4 separate regions of the Homo sapiens genome follow, and regions 2, 3 and 4 are each linked to region 1. Evidence: promoter capture Hi-C in human tissues and cell types (Jung and others, 2019). All regions are on one chromosome and are shown on one strand. The core of a region is centred on a gene start or on the middle of the fragment in contact, and the rest is flanking DNA. Distances in the headings are between cores, read along the strand shown.

Region 1 (7,319 bases), core at 1,904-4,403:
ACCTGAGGTCGCCGCGAGAGGGTGAGCCTTCGCACCCGATCCTTGCTGCCCACCTCGGTCCTGGCTCTCCCAGCCCAAACTTACACGAAGGAGGGAGCTGAAAAAGTACTTCTGCAAAGAACCTCTGTTTGTTTGCTTTTTAATTCAAGGAGAAGCAGGTTCTTTTTAGTCCAACAGCCTGTACCATGTGGAGGATATGCAGAATGAGTCTTTTCTGGCTCAGAGCCAGGTGTTTACACGCCGCCAAATCTGGCTCCAACTCAACTAGGGGAGGGAAAAGAAATCCACCAGAATCCTCAGGGGAAAAGCTCCTGGCTTTCTGGTGCTACACGACAGCAGTGCTTATTTATTTATTTTATTTTTTTCGTTTTGAGAGGAATGTTATTTCTACACATAAAATGGACCAGGCATTTTATACAAGCAATAATAACCTAACGCCCCCCATCCAATTAAAGTATTTTACTGCAACAATCTTTGTGTGAGAGAGTGAATGAGTGCTCAAGAGAATGTGTGTGAAGAGAGGCTCCTTGTCTGAATTATAGACATTTATAAAGCAGTCTCCTGTGGAATCCCAGGTGTTATATATATATATATACATATATATATATACACATATATATATACACACATATATATACATGTATATATATATATACACACACACACACGTATTTATGTAGACACACTTACATAGTTAAAATGCATTCACTACCCTTTCACTGATGATGCCTGCATAACCCTGTGCTCTCCTCTCTCCAGGGAATGCCTTCCAAATCACTGGTACTAGGTAAAGACTAGGAAAAACCAGACCTACAGATTAAAAAAAAAAAAAAATCACCTCCAAGCAGCAGTCTCTTTGCTTTTTCACATGTTTGGAAAGAGAAGTCAACATACTACAGCTCTAAATTATCACCATCGTCATTATTATTATGGATAACGTTTCCTCTGTTCCAAATTAGACCCTCCTCTGGGCAAATAGGGCTTGCGAGTTAAAAGTGAATGAGTTCAGTCTCCTTCTTCTTCCCGGAGGAAAAAAAAAAAGGAAAAATAGCATGCGATGACGTCAGTTGTGGGTTGTTGGGGGGAATCACTGTATCGCTCTCCTTTGATAGCTGGAAAGCGGGGGCTTCGGGAGACGTATTCTTGGGATAGCAGCAGAGTGTGGGTCTCCTAAAGGGGTCTTCATGTCAACTGGATAGTCAGTGCTACATCTGTGAAAGTCCAAGCCATGGAAAGACAGGAAGAAGCAGAACTGCCCGGAGAGCTCACAGCTTTCCCTTCTAAGAAAGTGTGTGTGTGAGGGGGTGGGATCGCAAAACGCCTTCACACGTTTCCTGGCTGCAGTGAAGGGGGAACCCCTACTCTCACTTTAAGACGTCCCAGGACATGGCAAGATTGTTTGTGCAGAAAGGGAATCTCCCAGACAGAAAAGGCAAAACTTTCCTCCTCTCTTCCAGCGCCGCCCCCACCTCCGCTCCCCAGTTTTATTAAAGGCATTTCCACAGATTCATTTAGAGGGGGGAAAATGGATGCTGGAGCATTTCTAAGGTTTGCAATCCTCGCAAAGTGTCCGATTTCACTATAGGCTTTGCTGTGGAACAGCGAAGGGGAGAGAGAGGGAGGTTGAGGAGGGAGAACTCAAATTCATTACGGGCTCATAAAGTCCCATATGAGAAAAGCGCCCCGTTTCGCAGCCGCGTCTGGGGAACGCTGGCGGGGTATGCGTTAGGAAGGTCTCGTCCCAGCCCCGAGTGACAGGCAATGGGCTTTAAAAGCTAGGACATGGGATGGCGTGGAGGGGGTGAGGGTGAGTCCCAGAGGCAGGCTTCAATCAGTGAGCAACTTTGGGGCACTTCGAGGACTTCTAAGTCCTGGCCATTACAACAACCTTGCCCTTGCCGGCTTTCAGGGGAATGGGGCCTAATGAAGGGGAGTTACCTCCATTAAAACGTCAAAGAAATCAACGGTCCCCAAGTCTCCTTTCACATGCATCTCAATTGGGTCATCCTCCCTTTCATCCCAAAAGGAGAGAGTGCATCTGACCATTCGGAGCACGGGTTACGTGCCCTAGGCTCCGGGAACCAGCCCTCACTGGCCGAGGGTCCGCGGGGCCGCCAGGAGGGCTCCCCAGGTTCCTCCCAGGGATGGAGCAGCTACGCCTTCCGAGTGTGCCCATTCCACCGATGGAGCAAAGTGAGGCTCTCAGCTCGCCCGGATGTCTCTGCGCCGCTCGCGGGGCAGCTCTCGCACAGACACGCCCGCAAGCCCCCGACCCGCCCGCCACCCGCGCCCAGACACCCGCGAGCCTCTGGGGCCGCAGGGACGGTGCAGCGCCCGCCGAGGCGCCCTCACCTACCTGTGATCACTGCCGGAGACCTCTGGCCCCCCTCCGCTCGCAGCCACACTTGCAGCGTGAACGCGTCCCGGGGCAGCTCGAGGTCGGCCCGGAGGCGCAGCTGCTCGCCTCGCCCGCTGAAATAGAGCGCCCGGCTCGGCGGGCTCGGCTCCTCGGTGGCGCCCCTCGCCTCCCGCTGCTGCCGCCGCCGGGGGACGCGCACGGCTTCCCAGGCACCGCCCGGCGGCGGCGGCGGCGGCGGCGAGGCGCGGCGGCCGCGGGCCGCCCGGGTGGCGCAGGTGGCCGGGCCGGCGGCGGGGCGCGGGGGTCGGCCGGCCCGCGGGTCTCTCCGGGCCCGGCGGGGACGCTCGGCCAGCCCGCAGCCCAGCGCGGCGCTCAGCAGCCCCAGGTGCAGCACCCAACTCCAGAGCCGCATGTCCGACGGTTCCCCCCGCCCCCCCTTCGCCCCTGCACCGCCACCCGGAGCTGCCAGCTTTGGGAGCCTCGGCGCCTCGACTTTCTTCGCTTCTTCACCCTTCTTGGGCGAGCCCCCCTTTCCACTTGCTTTTTTCTTTTCTTTCTCGCTTTCCTCCTCAAGGTGTGTGCTCCACTCTCCCCACCTTTGAAAAATACAGCCCAACTCCTCCTGGTTGGCAATTAATTTCTCTCCCCGCTCCTTTATCTGCCTTATTTTTCCCCTAACAGCTGGTTGCCTTCCTCCTTGTTTTATTTCATTTTATTTTATATGATTTCTCGCTCCAAAAAAAAGCTCCTCTTAAGACTGATCCGCTGAATTCCCTCCCCCCAAAAGATGCTCTAATTTATTTATTTTTTGCGTCCTTTATAACACAAGCCACAGCCCCCTTCTCCCCCCCCAAGTCCCCCCTCCCCTCCCTCCTTCTTCTCAAAATGAAAGGAAAGAGGGGGAAAAAATCCCTCAGAAGATGAGTAAACAAGCGTATGCTAATCTGCTCCCCAGCGCTCCACCTTCCCAATTGAATGAGTCCCTGTTAAAACTGCGGGGATCATGACTAATCAATCAGTTTGGAGAGGCCGAGCTATCCAGCTTTCCTTCACTTTGCCTTTTGCCTCCTTTCCTTCGCTCCCGCTTCTCCACCACCCCCTCCTTTTCTCTCTCTCTCTCTCTCTCTTTTTTTTTTTTTTTTTTTAAGGAGACAATCTTAAAGTAACAATTTAATGAAATTCTGTACACACCCCCTTACGGTCCTCCCAGCTCTCATTCCTGCTCAAAACACACATTCCTGTTTTTGTTTTGTTTTGCTTGCTTTTTTTCCCTCCCTCACTCCCCCCACTTATTATTATTATTTCTGATGGCAGGAGAAAAATCTGTCTCTTCTCTTAGGATCCCCTTTGCACTTTGCTGGTAAACCTCATCCTTTTCTGTAGCACATAAAGAGTCTTGAAACTTGATTCTTAGATTTTTTTTTTTAATTCTCTCTCTCTGTCTCTCCCTCCCTCCCTCTCCCTCTCTTTCTCTTTTTCTCACTCTCTCCCTTACTCTTCTTCCCGCTTCCTCTCCCTTTACCTCTTTCCCTCTTCTTTTCCCTGTCCTTTTCCCTCTCAGAATTTCCTTAAAGTTGTACGATGATGAACCATTCCCCTCTTTTCTGAGCCCCCAGATAAGGCTGGCTTCAGCTAACCCAAATGTTTCCAAAGTTCTTATGGAATCATCAGAAGAAAATAGAAGAAAGGCACTGTCCAGGACATCTGCCTTTCAGAAGCTGTAGTCCTAGTACAACTGGGTCTCTGAATTTCCCCGAATACTCTTTAAAATACTCTGTTGGTCATTAGAAATTATTTTAATTTTATAAGAAGAAAATGAGAGAAAAATATTAATTTGCCTAATGTTTTCAACTTAAGCAATTCAGGTCCTCTGAAATTGTTAAAGTCACAGGTAAGGATCTGACCATTTGCTGCTTTGTAGGTCTGTTTTTGAACTGGGACATACATGTAATATATTTTTTTCTTCTTTTTTCCCCCTCTTTATAGAACTCAAAAGCTCCCCCTTATGGCAAAACAGATCTTCTTTTATTTTGTCCAAGTGTTTAATAAGTCAAAACATGTTAGCAATGGTGGATTACAAGCTATTAATTACCAATCTATTCCAATAAGGTAGTGATAAAAATATTCTGTGTGAAGTTTGCATGTGAATAGCGTGCTGAAAGTCTGCGATAAAATTAACTCCACTAAATTGTAACTTTCTTCTTCAATTGCTCTTATCTTCCGAGCTGCTCCAGATCTTTCTTGAGAGCTAGGAACATTGCTACACGCTTCAGGAAGAGAGAAAACCAAGGAAGAATGTTTGTTGGCAAAAGTATGACGATTTGTCGGATGAGCAAATGACTCAGACATCCCCTCTATGAAAGCTGGAATGCGATATATGCAAAGATTATGGAAGCTTTCTGAAAATGGGAGATCTCAGATTCATACCTTCCTAGTTTAGAAAGAAGTTGCTGAATAGTCTTAGACTAAGAACGTTTGAACTCTGTTTCTGTAGTCATAAAATGAAAATAGCACAATACCCTAAATGTGTTTCCAGAGACTGGCTGGAGGAAAGAAAATCTTGGGTGCACAATGTCATGAATAAAGAATTTGCCTAAGCAAATCTTTGACTTTTTGCAACTCCAAGTCATCTGTAAAAGGTTGCCATTGGATAAAAAGAGAGCTATGTTGAACAACATAAATTGTATCATTCAAAATCCCCCTTCCTCTCCAATAGAGGTTGGACCATGACTACTGATTTACTTCAGTTGTGGCAATTAGGCATTTAGAAACTGCATGTCTTCCAGGGGGATTTTAAGTCATTGTATACAATAATTTTGAATATTCCTAGACAACTGGGAATTATTCAATTCTCAGACCAGCAGTGGGAGCACAAGATTTTTACTTCTCATTTCCTACTCCCTCCAACACATATCAGTTCACTGGCCTTGAGTAAGACACTTCATTTCTCTTCCCTTCCACTTCCTTACCTTTAAAATGGGAATATCTACTTGGCAAATTTATTTTGAGGACAAGATATGCTCTGGGGTATAATCTTTTGTAAACAATAAAAATGATATACGAATACCATTTGTTCTATTGTTGTTGTCAAAGACAAAGTGCTCCTCAGGTTCTTAAAGACAAACAAGAATTGAGGAGGCCAAGTTATTTCTCTCCTGTAGGAGGCAGGAAAACGAAGGGACAACGAAGTTCATGTCTTATGGGTCCTTGAACTCCTTGATCTCCGTCCTCAAATGCACTGGGATCATTTGGCAAGACATTTCACTCATCCATTCATTGAACATACATTTACTATTTGTTTCCATCTGTCTTGGAAGCCATTCTAACTCTTTATGCATATATGTATGTATGTATTTGCTTGTTTTTAATTGAGTGCATAAAATTAGATGAAATTTAATTCTTGGTTCATGACCCACCCTAACCCTTGATCTATGACTGACATTCATATATATATGTATATATAAAAGACCTTCATATATATATATATATATATATATATATATATATACACACACACATATATATATATATATATAAAATGTATCATGTACTGCTATCCCTTTTTTACTACAATACTTGATCTTTTATGGATGTGTTCCCTCTCTTTTAATCATTTTTAGTAGAAGAGCAATCGTTTCAATGTCAGGTGACTCAGGATCTTATTCTGCTTTGTGTAGGATCTTTAGATCTCATTCTGTTCTAATGTAAAATGAAAAAACTGGAATCAAATATTCTTAAGATCACTTCCAGATTTGAAATATAATGTAGCCTCTAATTATCGGAGTAAGGCAACAATTCCCATCTAGTCATCCAATATTCAGTTAGTTTCCTTCCTTCCAGCCCTCCTCCCCAGGGACTCCCTTAAGTTCCTGAGGATTTTTTCCTAAAAGGTACTTTGACTCTGTTTCTTCGCTCTTATGATATACTCCTTCAGTGTTCATTTTGTTTGGTAATTACTAAAAGCGTTTTTCCAGAAAGGACATAAGATTCTACTGGAAGTTAGAAAAGTAACATCAAAGTAGAGCCCTAAAGATTGAGACTGATTTGAATGTGGGTGAGGGTGGTTAAAAGTACATCTCAGAGTCACCCTGACCTGGGTTCCTATGACTCTCAGCAAGTTGCTTAATTTCTCTGAGTCTCTGTGACCTTACCATGGAGTTGTCATGAGGATTAGATTAGTGTGTTGCATGACATAGTAGGTGCTCAATATATAAGTACCCTCTTTTCATTTCCACAGATCTAATTTTTAATGGCCCTTTGAGCTTTTTTTCTCAGCTTTTCTCTGGAGCCAGAGCCCTATGTACTTCTTATGTCAAGCCAGATGGATAATTCTCGTCTTAGAATTCCTAAAGCAAGCATCGTCTGTCTCACAGAATCTGGAACTCACTGAGATAGGATCTCCCATTGTTCTTAGTGTAGTGTCCTGCTTATATCTTTCCTCCAAGATTAGAATCCTTGAAGGGTGAAGACCTTTAAAGGCAAGAATCTTCAAGGGCCAGTTCTGTCACCTGCTCAGAGAATCTTCAACTGACTGCACCCCTCCCCGAGCAGCCTGAAGGGCTCCCTCCTCTGGGCCCTTGTAGAACTGCTTCTGAATTTCTATCGGCACACCCTCAAAGCAAACTCTCAGGCAAATTATATATTGGCATGCTTCTTTTTTCCATTTGGGTCAGAGACTGTTGCATTCATATTTGTTCTTTCCCAACTGCCTAGCTCAGCGCTGTGCATAAAGATGTTTGTCCACAACCCCTGTTGAATTTAAGTGTATATATTTATATATGTTGTATAGCTTCTTTATTTTCTCCTGTGGTACCAATCATGGTGCTATGATTCTATTAGTTTCTTAATAAACAATTAATTTAATTTCTTTGTTTTCTCTGCCTCAGTTTTCCCAGATGATGCATCTGTGAACACCCTGACAGATATAGTTCATCAGTTGCTCAAGTGAAGGTCACTAAAA
Region 2 (7,272 bases), core at 994-3,493, 580 kb after region 1:
TTTTGTACAGTTCAACAAAATTTTTAAGCATGGGATAGATGGCGATTATCTTTGCTGGACAGAAAAGAATAAGGATAAATAAGAATAAATAAGTTACAACATAATAGATAGTTGTATTTTGCTTTTACTTATTTTCTTAAAATGTTCTTTTTATCCAAATAGTGGAAAAATACATACACAAATGCACAAACACACATATATAGAGAAAGTGTATTTATTTCAAATAATGTACATACAAAGGAAAGAGGAAAATCATCTTTATATTTTCATTCAAATATAGCCACTCAGTATTTTTCTGTATAGTTCCAATATCTTATTTTCTGGCTTATACGTATGTCTTTTAAAGCAAGCATTCTTTTGTTCACATGGAAGACACTTCCTCAGAGACATCATTAGTTTCCATCCCCAAATTTATTCCCACTGTCTCTTAACTAACAAAATCACAATCTAGTTCCAAGCAGCAAAATGCCCACCAAATTATCTTATTTGCAAGCTTTTATGGCTAGCCCTGGCCATGAGACTATCACACATAGTGATACCCCAGCTGTGTATCACATGGACAGAAAGAAAAGGGAGGTTGACTTCTCAAAGTACTTTTGGAGTACTGTCCCAGAAGAAGAGGAAATGAATGATGGAAAGAAAGATTCCCTGGCCTGATATGACCTGTAACTTTCCACATACCCAGAGTCCAGCTGCAGGATGTATGGTATTCTCAAAAATACTTTTTTCTAATTGATTGATTTTTTTTTTTTTTGAGATGGAGCCTCGTTCTGTTGCCCAGGCTGGAGTGCAGTGGCACAATCCTGACTCCCTGCAACCTGCAACCTCTGCCTCCCGGGTTCAAGCGATTCTCCTGCCTCAACCTCCCAAGTAGCTGGGACTACAGGTGCATGCCACCACACCTGGCTAATTTTTGTATTTTTAGTAGAGATGGGGTTTCACCATGTTGGCCAGGATGCTCTTGATCTCCTGACCTCATGATCAGCCTGCCTCGGCCTCCCAAAGTGCTGGGATTACAGGTGTGAGCCACCATGCCTGGCCCTCAATTGATTCCAATCAATAAAAAGTAGGAGACATACAGATATGAATGACATTTAGATAATATATGCAACTGCAACTTCCTCTTTCTACCAGCTGACAGGTGTCAAGGCTCATGCCCTTAAATATTCAGGTAGACAGAAACTTTCAAGTAATAGAACAGTGGTATCTAAATGCAGATGCAATTATAGTCCTTGGGAAAAACATTTTTGTGATTGCGGGACAGAACAATAAAACTCTGCTTGATGAAGAAAATGTGGCATTTACATTCATGCAGTATTATTAGTCTCAATAAAAGAAGGAAATCTTACCATTTGCAACAATATGGATGAATCTAGAGGACATTATGCTAAGTGAAATAGGACAGTCATCAAAGGAAAAATACTGCATGATTATACTTATGTGAAATACCTAAGATGGTTAAATTCATAGAAGTAGGGAATAGAATGGTTGTTGCCAGTGGGTGGAGAGAGGAAGAAATGGGGAATTGTAACTTAACGGGTATAAATTTTCAATTACGCAAGATAAATAATTTCTAGAGACCTGCTATATATCATAGAACCTAGAGTTAGCAGTAAGGTATTGTGCACTTTAGGTGGAGAGGATAAATCCGATGTTGAGTGTTCTTATCGCAAACATACAAACACACACACACACATACATACATACACACAAAGGACACAAGGACATTTCCAGAGGTGATGGACAGGGTTAGTAGCTTTATTGTGGTGATGGTATCATGGTGTAGAGATGTTTCCAAACTCATCAAAATGTAGACTAAATATGTAGATTTTTATATCCATTATATCTCAATAGAGCTGTAAAAAAAAGAAAAAAAAAAGCCTGCTTAAACCTAGACTTGGAAAGAAAAGAGAAGTAGACAAGCCAGGGCTGCCTGGAGTTCTAGTTCTTGAATATTTTTCCCCCTTTGGTACTAATTTTAATTATAACCAAAATGCAAACAATTACATAAAACATAGCGCAAGGCTCAATTAATTTTTACTAAGTGAACAAATACTTGTAATGTTAAACCAGATGAAAAACCAAGCACCCTCCCTGTCATCCCCCCTAGTCATTACCTTCCTCCCTCCAAGAATAACCACTATCCTCACTTTTAATACCATACATTAGTTTTGACCATTTTTGAAATGTTATATTCTTTATAAGCCTGGCCTCTTTTGCTAAACACCATGTTTGTGAGATCTGTGTATGTCATTACTGTATATACTCATTATATGCATATGGATTCATTCATTCCTCTACTCATGAACTTATAGATTGTTTCCAGTATGTTGCTATTAGAAGTAGTGCTTCTGTGAATCTTGTTGTACTAATCTTTGGGCTAAAATACCTACCCAGGTTTTGGATCACAGGTTATGCACATATTGAGGTTTGTTAGATAATATTGAAGTAGATGCCAATTTACACTTCCACTACCAGTGCATATGGTTCTCAGTCAGAGGAAGTGAGGAAAATCTTGCTGCTTCCAGGGGAATTTGGCAATATCTGGAAGCATTTTTTGTTGTCATTACTTGGGCAGGGGGAGGGGGCAGGGGCTGCTGTTGCATCTAGTGAGTAGAGGTCAAAGATGCTACTAAACATCCTATAATGCACAGGACAGCTCCGCACAATAATTATGTAACCAAAAATTTCAAGAGTACTAAAGTTAAGAAACCCTGTCCCACACCAACTTTGGTAAGTTCTGATCTTTTCTTTTTGCCAACGTCTTGGTTGTGTAGAGGTATCTTATTGTGGTTTTATTTGCATTTCTCTGATAGTGAATTTGTGTACTTTTCATATGTATATTTTGTTCTTTCATGAAGTATTTTTTTTTCCGTTGTTGTATTACCTTTGTATTGATTCGTAGAAGTCTCTTATAAAGTCTGTTCATAAGTCTATGGTTGGATGTTTGTAAATATATTATACTAGCATGTAGTTGATCTTATCACTCATTTAATACTGTCTTTTAACAAACAAAATGCTTAATTTTAATAACATTAAAATTATTAATCCAAATTTAAGTCCAATTGATTAATGATTTTTTTGTGTGAATAAGGCATTTATTTCAAATAATTTTTCCAAAATGGAACTAGAGTTCTGGTAGTATATCCATCAAACATTCTAATATGAGATTAACACAGGTAGTATAAAAAACAAATTTTAGGTGAAAATGAGCAATTATAAATTTTCTGAGTGCTCTTAAGAAAAATGTTTTAATGTTTATCTCATATATTTGTTGTAAGACTTCAATGACAAAACATTGGTAAAGTGTTCAGCAGCTGATTTAACACAGAAAATGAATCTGCTAAATTAATTCCCTTTCCTTCCACAATTATGGCCAAAATTAGTTCTTATCTAAGAGCAGTGATTTTAATAAATTGGAGCTTCTCTTTTATTCATCCAAGAAATATTTTTTTGAGATTAGACATTTTTCCAGTCTTGCAAATAAAAAATGAGTGAGATTCATTCCCTTTCCTTAGCACATGTAAAGTGGGAAAAATTAGGCATGGAAGCGTGGAAAACTGCTGTTTACTGAATTCTGTGGCAGGCATTGCAAAGGGCACTTAATATTACTCAGATCTGATTCTTTCTAATTATTGATAGGGAAGGATATTTGTTATTGTGTTACTTGTTTTATTTCTGTTTGTAGCTCTCTTGTCTCTCTTTTCCTCTCTTGATGTCTTCTCTTCTGGTTCATTTTTTAAAGTGATACCTTTCGAATTCTTTCTCATTTTCTTTTATGAATCTTCTATAAGCGTTTTCTTTATGATTACTGCTGAGTATAAAACATGTTATACTTAAAACAATCTATTTTAAGATGATAACTTCAATCACATACAAACATTCTACACTTTTCCTTCTCTACACACACTTTATATTATTAATGTCACAAATTATATGTTTTGTATTTTATTTTATTTATGTTGAGACAGTATCTCACTCTGTTCCCCAGGCTGAGTGCAATAGTGCAATCACGCCTCACTGCAGCCTCTATCTCCCAGGTTCAAGTAGTCCTCCCATCTCAGCTTCCAGAGTAGCCGGGACCACAAGTGTTCACCACTATGCCCTGCTAATTTTTTTTATTTGTACAGACAAGGTTTCACTATGTTTCCCAGTTTGGTCTCAAACTCCTGGGCTCAAGCAATCTTCCTGCCTTGGCCTACAAAAGTGCTGGGATTCCAGAAATGAGCCACCACACCCGTAAAAAATTATGTTTTTATACTGGATATCCATTAACATATTTTAGACGGTTATACTTATACTTTAGTCTTTTAAATTCATCAGAATTAAAAGTGATTTATACCCCACCATTATAGTATTAGAATATTCTGTATTCACTTATATATTAAGCTTCAGTAGCAAAGTTTATGCTTTCATGGGCTTTCATATGTTTAGTGTGCTTTCATTTCAGGTTAAAGTACTTTATTTAGCATTTCTTGTATTTGTTTTTCTGTCAACACTGTCAGTATATCATCCAACTACCTACTGGTCTGCAAGGTTTCTGCTGAGAAATACAGTAATATTCTGATGGAATTTCTCTCCATGTGACAACTCACTTTCTACTTACTGCTTTTAAAATTATTTTTCATCTGGGTTCAGTGGTTCATGCCTATAATCCCAGCACTTTTGGAGGCCAAGGCGGACGGATTACCTAGGCTCAGGAGTTCAAGACCAGTCTGGGAAATATGGTGAGACTCCTGTCTCTACCAAAAATACAAAAATTAGCCAGGCATGGTGGTGTGCACCTGTAGTCCTAGCTACTCAGGAGTCTGAGGCAGGAGAATCGCTTGAGCTCAGGAGGCAGAGGTTGCAGTGATCTGAGATCACCCCACTACATTCCAGCCTGGGTGACAGAGTAAGACTCTGTCTCCAAAAAAAAAAGGAATAAAGTTTTTTTTTTGACTTTTGATAATTTAATTATAATGCATCTTGGTTTTGTCATCTTTAGATTTATCTTATTTGGGAAGCTTTGGCTTTCAGAATTTGGATGTCAGTTTCCTTCATATTTGAATTTTCAGCCATGATTTCTTATAACTGTTTGTTCCTCTTTCTTTCTCTTCTCTTTCTGTGTCTCTGATCATGCATTTATTGATAAGGTTGGTAGTGCCCCTTAAGTCCCATAAGCTTTCTTTATTATGTTTCGTTCTTTTTTTTATCTTCTGTTTCTCTGGAAAGTTGTGCATGACCTGACTTCAAGTTCACTGGTTAAACCTTCTTCTTGCTCAAGTATGCTGTTAAACATTTTTAGTGATTTCTCTACCTCTGTTCTTTCTGTGCATACTCAATTCTACTTCCAAAATATATCTTCATAATATCCTCTTTGTCTAAAATTATTCCTCTTCTTATTTGTCTGATGACTTAAGCTCTGTCTCACTTTTCACCTTTCCAGATAGATAGATAGATAGATAGATAGATAGATAGATAGATAGATACAGAAAATAGATAGATACAGAAAATAGATAGATAGATACATAGATAGATAGATACATAGATAGATAGATAGATAGATAGATAGATAGATAGATAGATACATAGATAGATGCATAGATACATAGATACATAGATAGATATTCCAATAGGTTTTGGTGTACCAGTGGTTTTTGGTTACATGGATGAATTATATAGTGGTGAATTTTGAGATTTTAGTCCACCCGTCACCTGAGTAGTGTACATTGTATCCAATATGCAGCTTTTATCTCACAACCCCCTCCCAACCTCCCTCTTCTGCGTATCCAAAGTCCTTTATATCACTCTGTATGCTTTTGTGTACACATAGCTTAGCTCCCAATTATAAGTGAAAACATATGGTATTTGGTTTTCCATTCATGAGTTACTTCACTTAGAATAGTGGCCTCCATCTCCACCCAAATCACTGCAAAAGACGTTATTTCATTCAGTTTTATGGTGAGTAGTATTCAGCCATAAATAGGAAGATATATATATATGTATATATTTTACTCAGCCATAAAAAGGGATGAAATATGTATCTTCCTATTTATATAGCACAGGTTCTTTAGCTACTCATTGGTCAATGGGCTCTTAGGTTGGTTCTATATCTTTGCAATTGCAGATTGTTCTGCAATAAACATGTGTGCGTGTGTCTTTTTCATATAATTACTTCTTTTCCCTTGGGTAGTTTATTAGTCTGTTTTCATGCTGCTTATAAAGACACACCCAAGACTGGGCAATTTAAAAAAACAAAAGAGGTTTATTGGAGTTACAGATCCACATTGCTGGAGAGACCTCACAATCAGGGTAGAAGGCAAGGAGGTTCAAGTCACATCTTACATAGATGGAAGCAGGCAAAGAGAGAGCTTGTGCAGAGAAACTCCCGTTTTTAAAACCATCAGATATCATGAGACCCATTCATTATCATAAGAATAGCACTGGAAAGACCTGCACCTATGATTCAGTTATCTCCCACTGGGTCTCTCCCACAACACGTGAGAATTATGGGAGCTACAAGATGAGATTTGGGTGGGGACACAGAGTCAAATCATATAATTTCGCCCATGACACCCTTAAATCTCATATCTTCACATTTCAAAACCAATCTTGCCTTCCCCACAGTCCCCCAAAGTCTTATCTCATTTCAGCATTAACTCAAACATCTACAGTCCAAAGTCTCATCGGAGATAAGGCAAGTCCCTTCTGCCTATGAGCCTGTAAAATCAAAAGCAAGTTAGTTACTTCCTAGATACAATGGAGGCACAGGCATTGGGTAAATACACTCATTCCAAATGGGATAAATTGACCAAAACAAAGGGGCTACAGATCCCATGCAAGCCTGAAATCCAGCAGGGCAGTAAAATCTTAAAGCTCCAAAATAATCTCCTCTTACTCCAGGTCTCACACCCAGGTCACATTGATGCAACAGGTAGGATCCCACAGCCTTGGGCAGCTCTGTCCCTGTGGCTTTGTAGGGTATAGTCCCCCTCCTGGCTGCTTTCATGGGCTAACATTGAGTGTCTGCAGCTTTTCCAGGCACACAGTGCAAGCAGTTGATGGATCTACCATTCTGGGGTCTGGAGGACGGTGGCCCTCTTCTCACAATTCCACTCAATGGTGCTCCAGTAGAGTCTCTGGGTGGTGGCTTCAACCCCACATTTCCCTTCCACACTGCCTTAGCAGAGGTTCTCCATGAGGGCCCCACCCCTGCAGCAAACTTCTGCCTAGACCTCCAGGCATTTCCATACATCTTCTGATATCTAGGTGGAGGTTCCCAAACTCCAA
Region 3 (7,825 bases), core at 2,682-5,181, 530 kb before region 1:
TATGATTAAAGGATCAAGGAGATCCTAGGAAATATACAAAATGGGATGAGAATTTTGGGGAGACTAGCAGAGACTACTTAGGGTTATCAAAATCTGGCAAAGAGCCTGAGCAACAGAGTGAAACACCATCTCTACAATAAATTTAAAAGATAATCAGGTGTGGTGGCATGCACTTGTGGTCCCAGCTACTTGGGAGGCTGAGATGGGAGGATCACTTGAGCCTAGGAGGTTGAGGCTGCAGTGAACTGTGATTGCACCACTGCACTCCAGCCTGGGTGACACAGCAAGACCCTGTATAAATAAATAAATATGACAAAGCAACACTTAGTTCTCTTCCAGCACTGCCTTCCTCTCATAATTGCTAACACTCTTAAAGCAACTACTATTTATTGTCAGGCATTTTTTTATATGTTCTCATAGTCTCATAATAACCATGTAAAGTAAGTGTGATTCCTCTTCAAAAATAAGGAAACCAATGCTCAGAGAAAGTAGCCTGTCCAAGGTCTCAAAACCAATAAGTAATAGAGCAAGGATTCAAATCCCAGTATCAACTCCCAGCCATAAAATTACTAACTTAAAGGATGTTTCATAGTTCCCTAGCTTTAGACAAAGTCTGGCTGAGAGGTTGGTAAGGGCACCTAGAAATGATTTTTAAATTTGATTGTTTTACCAGAAAGACAAGATGGAGGGAATGTCACAAAGGTTACACATCAGTGTGCATAGACAATGATCTACTTTAAGGGCCTTATAAACTTCTGGCTTCCAACTATTCTCCAGACATAAACATAGGGGCTCTGAAGGGTTGGAAAAGGCTTCTAATAAAACTACTATAATGTAACATAGGTGTAAGACAGAACTGGGTTTGTATCCCAACCTAGCTACTTGCTCTGTAGCCCTGGGTAAGTCATTTAACCTGTTATTTTTCTTATCTGTAAACAAGGAATAAAACCTAGACTGTTAGCAGGATTGAATTCACTAAGATAATGCACATAATAAGCACTCAACAAATTATAATCATTTGCATTTTTAATAGATTGAGGCTGACAGGACAAGTGCCGTAGCTACTGACAAGGTAACATAGGAAATTAGAGTAAGGAGTTTAGACAGGGCTGATTTAATTCCCATGACATATTTTCTTTTAGGGATGTGCACAGATATTCCAGCTAAGTCTTGCTGTCAGACACAGTCTAGCTTTGTTTCTGAACTGGCTTCAGCAACCCTGTAGCTAGTCCTGGAAATGATAGAGCCAAATTCTGTTCCAGGGAAAAGCAGACCAAAAGAGACCATACAGAACAGTAGTTACTCTCCTTCAGAGTATGACTGCCTTCAGCCTCAGTCCCTGCTATGAGGTGTTTTTTCAAGCCAATGGCCTCCATACCTCACCCTATAGTCCGTTGCACCTCATCCTGCCTGATAACCTCAGGCTCCTCTCCTTATCTAGCCCCAGGTCTTGGTCTAAGGGCAAACCAAGAACAAAGTCCAGGGCTCCTCCCTACCTAATCAGAGAGATTTACCCCCCAACTTTAGAGTTCAATCTGATAGTCAGTGATACTCACTGGCAATCCTCTTTTTCATTAGAGGGGAATGGGCTGAGAAAATAAGACTAAGCAGGCCCTAGCAAGGAAGAAGCAAGGAAAGCGGGAATATACGGAGTTACAGAGATCTGGGTATGAGCTTAACTGTGTCATTCCTAGCTATGGAAACTTAGGCAAGTCACTTCCTAAGCCTTAGTTTCCTCATGTGTAAAACTGAATACAGTAGAGCCTACTTAGAAGGACTGTCATGAAAACTGAGTAAAGAAGTAGATACAAGACTAAAAATTACTAGATTTTGAGAACTTACTATGTGCCAGATCCTAGGCATGCTAGTTTACTTCACTAAATCCTCACAACAATTCTGTGACATTGGTCTTGTTATCATAACCCCATTTTACAGATGAAGAGCCAAGGCACTGGGTGGTTAAGTAACTCATTCAAGGCCACAAAGTCAGGAAGAGATAGAGCTAGGACTTAAAGTCAGGAAGAGATAGAGCTAGGACTTGAACCCAGGGTATCTGACTCTAGGTCAGAGTGCCTCAACTTTGGCATTACTGACATTTTAGGCAGGATAATTCCTTACTGCGGGGGGGAAGGGCGTATCCCACACATTGTCAAATGTTTAACATAAAACATTATGTTTAATGTTTAATCTACCCACTTGAGGCCAGTAGTATCCCCCACCCTGTGACAACCAAAAAACATCTCCAGACATTGCCTAATGTCTCCTAGGAGACAAAGCCAGACTTGGTTAAGAACCACTGCTTTACAGTCTAGCACAGGACTAAATGCTCAATACCTAAGGGTTCCCTTTTTTTTTTCTGGTGGTTGTTGTTGTTGTTTTGTCTGTCTCCGAGCCCAAACACCTCACTCACAGAGCCACTGCCCCTTCAAGCTGTAATGGATCTTATATAGGATAAATTATTCCACTCATTCCCCTGGAGGTCTCACTTTCTATCTGCTATCGTAGCTTGGGGGTACAGGGAAAAAGGGCTTAGGCAGATGACCTTGAATAGTTCCACTTCTTCTTCCCCAAAGCCTACCACTTTCAGTGGGCCGGGGGACCGGTGGTCAGAATGGAGTTAGTGGCAATACCATACCTGCCTCATGATAACGGATCTTTGTTTAATAAATGAAGAAGATTCTGCCCTTCACAGGGATTACCACACTCCTTCAGGATTATCTGAACTGAAGATTTATCACTTTGTTCCTCAGCACCTGAACTCTGCTCATCTTCATATACTCATCCAGTTTCATACATTACTTTTAGGTCCTTGGGTCCCCTGAACTCCCTCTGTCTCCCATGCAGCGATTTAAGGAAAATCTCTTTAGCAGCCCAAGACACCAATCCACAAATCTACTCAGGGTCCTTTGATTTTATAGCCCAGTTAGGACATCTCCACCCCACGATTCAATCCTCTCCAAACCCTGTCCCCAACCCTCTTACAATTCCAAATTCCAATCTTTGGGGCTGTATATTGCAACCCTCGTCAATTCCTCACTCATATGCCCCAAATCCCTCGGACTCAGATCGTTTAATCCCTATTTCCAAATCTCTGCCACACTCAGCCCCGCACCTCAGTTCAACGCCCCAATTCCTCACCCCAGATTTCTGCTCTCCCTCAATCTGAGCCCCCATCTCCTGCATTCCATCGGGCACTGTGCTGCCCTCATACCCTGCTCCTTCCTCTTATGCACTGAATGTCATGTGCTGCCTTCACACCTCAGCCAGCTCCCTTCTTTCTGCTAACAAGATAGAGTCCCTCAAGAACTCACCCCACCCCCTCAATCTCACCCTCAGCCCACTCCGAAAACCCTTTCTCAATAGCACTTAGGATCGCCCTAGACCTTGCTCCTATCATCTCAGACCCTGTCCTTGCCAGATGCCTAGCGCCCCCAGATTTCCTCAAATCTCATCGGGGCCCCCCAGTTCCTTCATATTTCTGAAATTCTGCACCCAGGTCCCTCCAGGGCCCTGATTCCCTCCCATCTCCCACATGCTACACCCCGTTCCTCCTCAGGGCCCCGACATTACCTCATACCTCCCGAGATGCTGCAACCGCAAATCTCTTCAGAGCCCCTCGCTCCCCTCCCCCAGCTGCATCTCCTCGGATCTCCTCAGCCCCACGAATCCCTCCCGAGCCTGCCCCTCGCAGCCCCACCCCCACCCTAGTCCTGCCCCCCCCAGATCCGGTCCCCACACCCTGCCATTCGGGCGCGGCCGCTGCACGCCGGCACGTTCCCCCGCCTGGCCGCTGAGCCACGGCCCACGACTCCGGCCGCGGTCCCCAGTCCCCAACCCTCCTTCCCGCCCCCTACCTGACCGCCCGCGGCTCCGACGAGTCCACCGCCGGCAGCCCACCCGCCTGCCTCCCTCTGCGCACGCGCCGTTGAGCACCCCTTGCCGGGCGCCAATTCGCAGAGCTCCCTGTCCGTCACTGAGCCCCGCCTCCCCAGCATGCTGGGGCTTGTCGTGCAGCTGGCCCCAAGCGCGCGGGGCAAGGCGGCCCTGCAGGGGTGAGCTTTCCTCTGAGAACCCGGGGCCTTAGCGACACGTAATCCAGTTTTCCGTCTCCTTGGTGCAGATGAAGAAACCGACGCCCATGGGCGAAAGGGACCTGCTCAAGTTCACTCAGTAAGTCAGGAGATAAGCCAGAATGCGTATCTGACTCCAGTCTCAATGTCTACCCCTTCACAAAACGGTAGCCTCCAGGGTAGTCCTCAGCAAAGCGTTGGCACCTTACTGAATCTGTTTTTCCATCTGAGAAATGGGCCAACGGAAAAATCAAACTTCCATTCTGGGGAAGTCGAGAACCGGGACTCCCTAGGAAGGGCAGTGCTTTGGCCTCATGTTCTGTGCTCTGACAGAGAGCTGCACTAGAGACAAGTTTATCCATGAACACATTGCTCTGTAAAGGAATGTTTTGCCTACTCAGCTGGGAGGCCGACAGCAGAGGCAGACTTGGGGAGTACACTCTGCAGCCCCTGTCCCTGCAGACTGAAGGTACCCGGGAACCCAAACCAAGTGTAGTTTTGCTCGGGTGAAGGTGGAGGAATCTTACCAGGTGGGAGGTGATCTGGCCTGAGATTTGAGGGAATCTGGGGCACTAGGCATCTGGCAAGGACGAGGTCTGATACAGGACTGGCTGGCCACGACCTGCAGTCCCTGAAGTAGTTTGGGGCCAATCACCTACTCTCCAAGGTGACTATACTGTACAGCTTAGGAGCACAAAGGAGTTTGAAGTAGGATGGACTTGGATTTGAAATTCCCCTTAGCTATGTGACCCTGCACAATGATAAAACAATAAACAAAAACAATGACTAACATCTTTGAACACTTGCTGTCTGGCTACAGCTGAGGACTTCAGGTGCATAGCTCACTAAATCCTCATAAGGACCTAATGAGATAAGGCAGCTGATGGTTAACCTACACCTGTTGTGTAACCTAGGTGGTTACACAAGGCCACATATACCTAAGTGTTGGAGCCCAAATTTGTACCCAATTCTATCTGAGAACCCACTCTCTTAACCTTGTTTACTCTTTCTCCCCATTTTCTAAATTTCTAATTGAAGTTTGCCATGAAGATAAGCCAAGATTATGGTAGTTTGCACTTAATGATAACTATATTTGAAAAATTGTAATTAGCAGGTAGGGGATAAGGGAGAGGTAATGCCAAATGATTTCTCACTTAGACCAGTTGGGGAGACTTTGCACCCGTTTAAAATTTTTTTTTTTCCTGAAAACCACAGTTATCAGCCCAAAGTATAAATTTAGGACTGTTCATAGTCTTACATATATACATATTATATATGTGTGTATATGTATCAATACAGACATACTGATGTTTCCCTAATTACAGAGGAGTGTTAAAAATACTCCTGGGGATCTAGCTCAAGCAAGTGTCTTGAAAAAAAAAAATCTCTCTTCTCCCTTAAAACAAAAATCAGTGTTTGACTCTTCTTTAATGTTTATTACCAGTTAAATGAATTATTATACCTCTCACAAAATCTTAGAGTAGAATAAGCATTCTAGGAAATGCACTCAATTTTTATCTTATAGCTTGACATATCCTGGCACAATATTAGAATTCCTCTTACACAGAGGCATTTAAAAAATAATCTTTGTGGAGTGCTTTAAACACTCTTTATTCAGCATTTTAATGTAACAGATTTTTATTTAACACTTAAATCACCTATATCAGTGGAACCACCTGAGGAGTTTACCTTGCCCACTGCCTAGACAGAGCTGATTCATCAAGACAGGGGAATTGCAATAGTTAAAGAGTAATTCACGCAGAGTCAGCTGTGCGGGAGACTGGAGTTTTATGATTACTCAAGTCATCTCCCTGAGCATTTGGGGAACAGAGATTTTAAGGATAACTTGGTGGGTTGGGGGAAGCCAGTGAGCCAGGAGCGCTGTTGGTCAGGGATGAAATCATAGGGAGTCGAAGCTGTCTCCTTGCAGTGAGTCAGTTCCTGAGTGGGGGGGCCACAAGATCAGATGAGTGAGTTTATTGATCTGGGTGGTGCCAGCTGATCCATCAAGTGCAGGGTCTGCAAAATATCTCAAGCACTGATCTCAGAAGCATTTTAGGGAGGCTCAGCATCTTGTAACCTCCAGCTGCATGACTCCTAAACCGCAATTTCTAATCTTGTGGCTAATGTTAGTCCTACAAAGGCAATCTAGTACCCAGGCAAGGAGGTCTGCTTTGGGATAGGGTTGTTACTGTCTTTGTTTAAACTATGAACTACAGACTAAATTTCTCCCAAAGTTAGTTCAGCCTATGCCCAGGAATGAACAAGGACAGCTTGGAAGTTAGAAGCAAGATGGAGTCAGTTAAGTTAGATCTCTTTTACTGTCTCAATCATAATTTTGCAAAGGCAGTTTCAGTCCATCACTTTGGGTTTTGTAACACCTTAATCTTAAAGTGTAGGGTATGAAGATGGGAAAAGGCTGTCGATTGCTCTGGGTTCTTCTTGCTGACAGGGGACGTAGTGGGAATGGGAGTCAACCCCAAGGTGAGAAGAGTGGGACCACTTTCAAGTGTCTGAGCGACTCATGCAGGTCTGGCTGGGCTTCTAAGGCTTGCATGGCAAAAACATTAGTACTCTCATCTATAGTTTTAGTACAGTATTTAGGTGAACAGCCTACTATAAGGTAAATAATGAGTCCTAGGATGAGGAGTACAATACTCAATTTTAAAAGCAAAGATTTGAAAGCATTAGTCTGGCGACTTCCAACCCACAAATAATTTAGGATTTAGTCAAAATTGTAGAAAAAACTCAAGGACAGCTAACAACAGCTAACAATAGGTTTCCTCTTGAAGCATAATTTCTCTCTCTCCAGACCCCATTTTTATTAAAAACAAATCATGATAGAACTGATTTGTTTACAGAAATGTACTTTAGTCTTACTATACTTGGCCTGATTATTTGCATAAAGTGCAGCAAGAATAATTATTTTTCACTTAGGGTCTTTTTTGTTTAAATTAGCTTTGATGGAACTCTGTTCCATGAGGAATCTCAGATAAGAGTTTTTAAAAGCCAAGCTCAGCCATGGGTTTGTATCCTCAAATACCTATGAGTTGGGTAAATTCCTCTCTTCTCAAGGTCCCAAAATAACTTGGGGTTCCTGGGCCTGTTAGAAAGTGACATTCTTTACTTACCACAGGTCAGGAACCTTGTACAGGGACTGTATGACAGAACCTTGTACAGGGACTATAGACAAGGTCTGAGGTTAGATTCCCCAGGGGGCTTTAATTGGCTCTATACATTAATTTTGATTCTTTGAAGGAAGCATGCCATTCCAGTAAAAGCCTTGGTAAAATAATCAATTTCTCCAGTTGTGTCCTGTTACAAGACAAAAACAGATTCTTACTGCACTTATGCAATTAAGTATACTGGCATAAATTGAGAATACTTACAAATAGTTTCCATATTCAGGAGAAATCAGGTAGAGAGAAACAAATATGCTCTAAATTTTTTTCATGGAAGTATTTTTTACTCATTTGTTAAAAGTTGCAAATAACTCTAAAGAAATATGCTATCTTGACTCTGAAAATGAGAGGATTAGCAATGCTTAACACATCAGCTATCTGTGAGAAGCCTAGAAGTTTCATTTTTTCCTCTATTCCAATAAAACAATTTTTAAAGTTATCTGAGACCTGCACTCAGAGTGTGATATCTGATTATAAACTGCCTTTTGAAAAGGACAAAAGCAAGACAAAATGTCTATGGATGACAAAAGTCTATAGCTACTATTAAAGCTGCAATTGACTAGGAATCTTGGT
Region 4 (7,791 bases), core at 3,170-5,669, 540 kb after region 1:
AGGGTGAAGGGACAGACCCTGTAAGAGAGGCAGAGAGGGCACTGAAAATGAATATTATCCACAGAAATGAGCGTTGACCACAAAAGTCCTTCTAGATTATATGTCAACATGGAAAATAAATGGAAAAGAAAGGGCCAGCTCCTGTCCAGTCCACAGAGCTTCTATAATGAACCACACTGATACTTGGTGCCCCTAAAGGCTCACATAGCCCATAAAATTTAACTATAGAAACTGGGATATCCACCCTTGTTTTGTTGATAACTCACTGTATAACCTTGGAGCATGTCACTTTCCTGCTCTGTCCTTTTATTTTCTCCTTTGTAAAAGGAAGAGATTGGGCTAAATTAGTAGTAAGATTTTCCTTATAACCTCAATGTTCTTTCTTGATATGTGTTATAGCCTCCAAATGCCCAGTATTTACTTCTGCAGGATCTGCACAACCAATCTTTAGATGTATTTCAACTAATCTTTAGATGTATTTCAACTAACACTAAGACAGGGAGTAATTTCTTCTTCAGAGCCTAATGGGCCTCTCAGTAGGATCAAATGCACAGCACTGCTATCCATCCTTGATGAGAGGTCTTATGTAGAGATCTAATTTTACTCCTGTTTACAATTTTACAGCAACACGCTTCATAGGCAGGTACTAGGAGCTTGAGCCAGCAACCGATAAATTTAAGCCAGTCCTTCTACCCCACCATGGCCTGAACACATGCATGGAGTCATCCTGCTGCCCCCTCTCTCCCTTTCTTCTTTCCTTCCTTCCTTCCTTCCTTCCTTCCTTCCTTCCTTCCTTCCTTCCTTCCTTCCTCCCTCCCTTCCTTCCTTCCTCCCTTCCTTCCTTCCTTCCTTGAAGGAGGAGAATATGAATGTAATGGAAATGAATGGCCATTCAGCATTGGTGCTGCAGAAATTGGTGAAATGAAAACATATTATTGGTTTCCTTGAAAATGCAGTCAAATTTCCAGGCTCCTCAAAAGCTTATTGAGATACTAACTACTTCTGAATCCAGAGTAAATGCAATTCATTTTACTGGCTTTGTAACCTTGGGTATCTGCAGAGTTGTTAGAACAGCTGACAGAGCAACAAACGGCCAAATTCACAGATCTGGATTCCAGTTCTACAGCTTTCTTACCGAGTAGCTTTAGGCAATATTATTTCACCCTTCAGCCTCAGTTTTATTCTTAAGGAAATGGGAAACGTCTTTACAACAATAATTTGATTAGATTCATTGCATCTGTACCAATAGCACTATTCTTGTACATGACCCTTGGCTCAGAGTAGCTCTTTAGAACTTAGGGTTTGCAAATATAATCAGAGGAAAGAAACTGGATAGAGAGTAGAAGAGATTACAAAAATGAAAACAAAAACAAATATGAAGATATGGAGCAACTGGTACTTGCCAAGAATTTGCTAGGTACTTTCATAGATATTTTATTTGCTTAAAAAAGGGAGCCTAATGACTGAGACATTGCTGTCTTATTTTCTGTACAGATAGATTCCCCTCACTCTCCCACCAAAAGAAAGCCTAAGTCATCTAGGTCAGATTCATATGTACTATTGTTTTTTGTCTCAGTAGCTAGGTGCGAGACTCTTCTGGAATTTGCCTGGGGGTAATAACCATAACCCCCAACACCACTATCACTCTAACATTTTGTGAGGTTGCTTACTTTCTTCTGCATACTCATAACATTCTGATGAGAAGGAGGTGACTCAGCCATAGACTAAGAGGTGAATAAGCATCACCAGCCTCATTCAATTATGGGGCCAGAGGGAAAGGCAGTGTCTGCAAAAGTCACAACAGATTTTTGAAACAGTTTCTCTTCCAGCCTCTGCAAAACCTGCTCATTCAATTCCTTTTCTGTTGATGACTTTGGCTTCTGAGACAGGGCCTTTCTCTGGCGGCCCAGAGCTCTGACAATCCCCCAAATGTCAGGGGCTTGGAGAGCTCTTTGGGGTAAGGTATCCAAAAGGACAAGGCTCCCAAGCCTCAGAATCTTTGCTGAGCTCTGGAGTTTCCAAAGCTCCAGTCTCTTTCGGAGACACTGAGTTGCAAATGTGAATTGTTGGAACTCCTAATCCACAGCCTCTTGGGTGTTCTAACAGCTTGGGCTCCTTTTCTGCCTTGTGATTAATTACAATCAGCAAGCCAGGTTTCATGGGACCCCACTTCTACAGCAGCCACAGTCAACTTAACTTAGACATTTGGAGCAAAAACCCAGCTCAGACTGAGTGTCCTTCACTAGTCTACTACAAAAGGAAGACTTATGGCAGGAAAAAGCATTCTCATCCCTTTCTCTCTTCAATTCAGGGTAGATGAGGAGACATGTGTTAAGGCAGAAAACGTGATGGACAGGACCATCTGGTCTAGGTCGTAGTTGCAATCCTAGCCTTGACCTCTACTATCTATGTAATGCTGGTCAGCTGACTTCTCTAAGCTCTTGTAATCCTCATGGGGTTAGCAGGAGGGGGCCATGCTCTATCACATAATGAACAGGAGGCAACATACATGATAAAGTATCCTTGGCTTCTTCTTTTCCAAGGCTGTATACAATATCACATAATGTAGGCAGTGGTTAGTTGATCACAGGGCTGCGTGTCTGACATTCCCACTGGGACTGGGTACTTTCCTCCACATGTATTTATTACTCATCTCTATGTCTTGCTTTAACTATTACCTCTGCCTGGAAGGTCCTTCATCCAAACACAGACCTTCAATTCTTTCACCTGAGGCACCAATGCCACTGGGAATCATTTCTCCTCTGTAATCCAAAAGCATCCTCTACCTATCCCAGTCATGACAGTCACCACTTACCATATCAGTTTATCATTATCTCTTTATCTCCCTGGCATAGAGGAAATGCTTAGTTAATGCTTGTTTACTTAAATAAATAACTCATGTCAGGAATAGATCACATTCTTCATAATCATAAAAATAGCAAACTTGAGTAGCCCTCCAGCACTTACAAAGAATATATATATATAGAATGGGGTTAATACTACAGCTTTGAGTTGCTATATAGCAATTCTTAAAGCTGTAGCATTAACCCCATTCAATAGATGCAGATACTGGGGTTCTCAGTTACAGAATGGGAACACAAACATAGATGTGTCTGGTTCTAAGTGTAGAGACCTTCCTCAAGGGCTGCCCAGGAGCAATACTCAAGTGCAAATGATTGTAGCAAATGGCCAGCATGGTGGTTGATGCCTGTAATTCCAGCAATTTGGGAGCCTGAGGTGTGTGAATTGCTTGAGCCCAGGAATTTGAAAGCAATCTGGCCAAACGAAATCCTGTCTCTATTTAAAAAAAAAAAAAAAAGTTATGGCCGGGTGCAGTGGTTCACGCCTGTAATCCCAGTGCTTTGGGAGGCCGAGGTGGGTGGATCACGAGGTCAGGAGATGGAGACCATTTTGGCTAACATGGTGAAACCCCATCTCTACTAAACATACAAAAAATTAGCCGGGCGTGGTGGCGGGCACCTGTAGTCCCAGCTACTCGGGAGGCTGAGGCAGGAGAATGGCGTGAACCCTGGAGGCAGAGCTTGCAGTGAGCTGAGATCACACCATTGCACTCCAGCCTGGGCTACAGAGCGAGACTCTGTCTCAAAAAAAAAAAAAAAAAAAAAAATTACAAAAATTAGTGGGGCATGGTGGCACACACCTGTAGTCCCAGATACTCAGGAGACTGACGGGGGAGGATGGCTTGAGCCTGGAAGGTTGATGCTACAGGGAGCAGTAATCGAGCCACTGCACACCACCTGGACAACAGAGTCAGACCCTGCCTCAAAGAAAAATATATATATAGATTTATTGAAGTCTACTATGCACTAGGCACTAAGCAAGGTGTTGGGGGACAAAAATGAGTAGGATTTAGGTCTGTATTCGTACAAAGCTCATGATTGAGTGAATACAAGTAGAATTCATTCCCATATTCTACTCTCCTTTCCTAAAGATCTACAATGTTCCTGGTGTCAGGATGCCCATTATGGAAGCTTACACTGTTGTGGGAGAATTAAGTCTTGGCATAACCCAAGGTGCGTCATATGAATTCTACATTTGTATAGTAGTTGAATTTTATATAATGAACATATATTTATTTGTAATCAGAGAAAACGAGAGCAAAAAAAGAATAAGATAGGAAATAGTGATTATCTTAATCTGTTTTTACATGTTTCTTTCCATTAATTTATCATCTTTAATCTACAAGCCAAAAGAGCTGTAAAAATAAAGTGACATAGGATTTCAAAAGAGGGAGAATGTACATCTATCTAGAGAATCAGTAAAATCCTTATTTTATTTGGGATTTATGATGGTAACTTTGAAAAGTCCTTGGCAGAGAAATTCTGAAGATGTTCTCTGGAAAGCCATAGTTCCAAGAGATATGAGCAGGTGTTTCCAGAGCAGAAAACAAAAGAGGGGAGGAGAGGAGCTAGAAGTGAAATGAAAGTAAACATGTTTTTTGTTTGTGTTTTCTCTTCTGTGTGTTTGTTTTGCTTTTCTGCAGAACATCTCAAAATCTTCAAAAAGCACATGTTTCTTGAGATAACAAATGAAACTTGGGAAGGGGAGACATATAGGGTTTCTCAAATGTGTTATTCCAAAATCAAGCAAATCAATAAAAAAATTGAGACTAGTGTTCCCAAGAAAACATAGTGATAAATGATGCCTTTCTGGGCTCTTAATAGCTCTTTAGCTTGATCTATGGGACACTGAAGTTGCTCGGATGAGGTAGAGCAAGAATGAGAGAAAATGGGGCTATCTGGAAGGTACTTTGGCAATACAGCAGTTAAGCAAAATCAGGTTAACTCCACCTGAAAATTGCCTACTTTTGGGACAGTCACCCACCACCCCTACTTAATATGAAAAAGAAAACAGTTTCATCTTGTTTGCAGCCAAGAAAACTTCCTCAGAGTGTTGATACATGAACTGGGATTTGAGAACCATCTTCTCAATTCCCAACAGGCTTCAACAATGGAAATACTGTGGCAATGTCTTCATTGACACCAGACTACTTTGAGGAACTACAGACCCCCCTCAGTTTTGAACCACAGAGAGCCATTTACTGGACTGAAATTGTCAGGGGTTTGGAATCAGTTTCTCCATCCAGCAAATGGGGATAATAATGTGTCTTGTAGGGTAGATATTGGGATTAGGTGGGTTGATTCATAAAAAGAATCTAATAATGCTAGACATATTGTAGGCACTCGGTAACAAAGGACATTATTAGCTGGAACTTCCTCAAGAAGTTGAGACTCCTTACCATTTTGCAAGATGGAGCACCATCTTCTGACCCAACAGAGCAATAAAATTTGAAGGACCCTGCTGAGAATGAAGGTCTAGCATTCATCTTCAGTAATTAATACATGCCCTAGGGGATGCTTGTGATTGGAAATGGGAGGGCAGAAGACTGTTTTTTACTTTTTGATTGAGTGCTTTTTTTATCTCAAGCTATTCTGAATGTCATGGAGAGTTAATGAAGACATGTTGTACACCCACTGCAAACACAATAAAAGAGAAAATGCAACCAATTCTACCACTGTCTGAGTAGATTAAATCCTCAGTTATACTAGAAGTTCAGGGAAGAAAATGAGAGCTGTGTTAGGAGATGGATGGGGATAACACTGGTTACAAAGTCAGAAAAAAACGAGGAAGGATCCTCTTCCATCTTTTCAAATTTCTCCACTTTTCCTTCCTTCTTCAACTCCTCCCTCCCTCAACAGCTAAGGACAGAGAGTGGGCACAAAGTGTCTGCATTGACTTTAGCATCAGATAATAAAATCAGCATAATTTAGTCTTAATACTGTGTCCAGAGTTATGATCTCTATGTTTTTCTTACCACCATTTAGTGAAATTGCAGAAAATCATCTAAAAAAGAAAAAAAAGCAGTAACATTCCATCAGTAGCTTTTGCTTCTCAAAGACTGGCTTCAAATAACAGATGTGACGTTCTTCAGGTTAGCCGCCACTCACAACACTTGAGATATCCAACTGGGAACAATCTCCCTGAGTTGGAATAAATGAGATGATCTAATACCTGAAGATTCCCCAACTCCAGCCCGTTTCTTACATATACAATACATCTGAGAAATGGCTGAATGCATTCTCCCCCAAAGATTGGGTAGGGCACTTCTTCTTTAATGAGACAGCAATTTAGAGGTACCCCAAGGGGGTAGCTGAGGAGGTTAAGAAAGTCTGCAAACTTGTTTGAAATCTCTAGGGTGAATTTTCCTGCATAAATCTTAGCAATTATGACTCTATTTTCCTTAAAGAAAGAAGCAATGAAAAAAAAGTAAAACAAACCCCAGAGCGATTCCTACAGTGTGTCTATAAAGTGAACTTTTCTTCTGAGAAACAATGGTTTCTATTTTTAGGGAATTTTTAGTTTCCCTTTGCTCTTCTAGAAGGGATCTGGTATATTTCAGACTAGAGTAGATTAAGTCGTTAAAAGTGATAGCTCTGCTTCATACTCAAAGCAGTCCCCAAACAGAGCACTACAGGTACATCAGACAGTGAAATTCTCCCCAGAAGAGGAAAGGGTTCATGGTTACAATCTACTTTTTTTGTGCACAGATTCAGGTGTCGGACAAAATGGAGTTCAAATCCTAGATCTTCCCATATGCAACTTCCTTAACCTCTGAGTCTCAGTTTCCTCTTTTGTCAAATGTCCATAATGATAATAATAATAATAAATAGACTTTTCCTGTTGTGGATATTCTGTTGCATAATATTATTTTAAAGGGGATTATAATCATTTGTTGCATTCATGTTGACATACAATATTCAATGTCTTAATACTCTAATTCTACCTGCCAACAAATGCATAGGATATCACCTTCCTGTCAGTTTTTTCTGCAGACATTATTGAAATGAACTCTCTCTTATCCTGAGATGGGTTTGAATACCCAATGAGAAGCAGATCCCATGAAATTAACTCACAAATTTAAGATCTCAAAATCAGTAAGCTGTGGAGGAAGGATCAAATCCAGTTCTATCTAAATCTAAACTCTTTTTCTTATCTACTTCATGGTGCTGCCGTGAGCTGGGACTGTACACGTTGATTGATTGATTGATTGATTCATTCATTCATTCATTCTTTTATCCAATCATTCAACAAGTATTAAGCAATGTTTTGTTTTGCTTTGCTTTGTAGGGGACATTTAAAATGTGAAGGCACTTTACAAAAGTAAAGTTCTATGTGAATATAAGCTGTTATAATGAAGGGCTAAAGCCTGTCTGTTGTCCCTGGTATTTTGAGTGGGAAACATAAGCAAAATTCATATCCCGTGATCTCTCATCCTATGACAAAACAAAATAAAACAAACTCTAAACTACAACCCACCCACTGCTAATATAATCTATATTTTACCTCCAGATTTATTGAGGTATACTTGACAAAATCTTACATATATTTATTGTGTACAATGTGATAATTTGATACACGTAAATAATGTGAAATGATTACCATAATCAAATTAATTAATATGTGGCATATCTATCACCTCATATAGGTTTTTTATTTTTATTTTTGGTGTGATGGGGTTTCTTAAGATCTCTCTCAGCAAATTTCAAGTATACAATACAGTATTGTTAACTATAGTCACCATGTGTGCCTTAGACCCCCAGAACGTACTCATAACTGAAAGTTTGTCCCCTTTGACCAACATCACCTCGTTTCCTCCACCCTCAGCCCCTGGCAACCACCATTCTACACTCTGCTTCTGAGTCTGATTTTAATAGTCATTATTGAAAATAGTATAGAAATTCTTCAAAAACTTACTTTAAAATAGGACTC

The links. Contacts are between HindIII fragments. The study calls those that stand out against the background at their distance.
Region 2: a contact is called between a fragment that was not itself captured here and the fragment with the promoter of PAPPA in region 1, in 1 of the 25 tissues and cell types used here (lymphoblastoid cells).
Region 3: the fragment with the promoter of TRIM32 here is called in contact with the fragment with the promoter of PAPPA in region 1 in 1 of the 25 tissues and cell types used here (hippocampus).
Region 4: a fragment that was not itself captured here is called in contact with the fragment with the promoter of PAPPA in region 1 in 1 of the 25 tissues and cell types used here (mesendoderm cells).

What each region holds. Positions count from the first base shown.
Region 1 is chr9:116,149,625-116,156,943 of GRCh38, reverse strand. It overlaps PAPPA (pappalysin 1), which reads right to left and starts at 3,153. Exons shown (of 22, transcript NM_002581.5): 1 at 2,357-3,153. The coding sequence starts at 2,771. RefSeq lists an enhancer at 1-426 and a silencer at 1,287-1,376. The HindIII fragment of the contact is 11,414 bases long and covers 1-6,516 here.
Region 2 is chr9:115,567,532-115,574,803 of GRCh38, reverse strand. No RefSeq gene overlaps it. Among named protein-coding and RNA genes, the nearest start is that of LINC00474, 350 kb to the left of the region's middle. The HindIII fragment of the contact is 5,684 bases long and covers 1-5,085 here.
Region 3 is chr9:116,683,411-116,691,235 of GRCh38, reverse strand. It overlaps TRIM32 (tripartite motif containing 32), which reads right to left and starts at 3,931. Exons shown (of 2, transcript NM_012210.4): 1 at 3,855-3,931. All of the region lies in intron 16 of ASTN2 (astrotactin 2), which reads left to right. RefSeq lists enhancers at 3,455-3,504, 3,945-4,264 and a silencer at 3,675-3,874. The HindIII fragment of the contact is 20,788 bases long and covers 1-7,825 here.
Region 4 is chr9:115,609,920-115,617,710 of GRCh38, reverse strand. The region is part of intron 2 of LOC105376235 (a long non-coding RNA gene); the gene reads right to left. Among named protein-coding and RNA genes, the nearest start is that of LINC00474, 310 kb to the left of the region's middle. The HindIII fragment of the contact is 3,865 bases long and covers 2,487-6,351 here.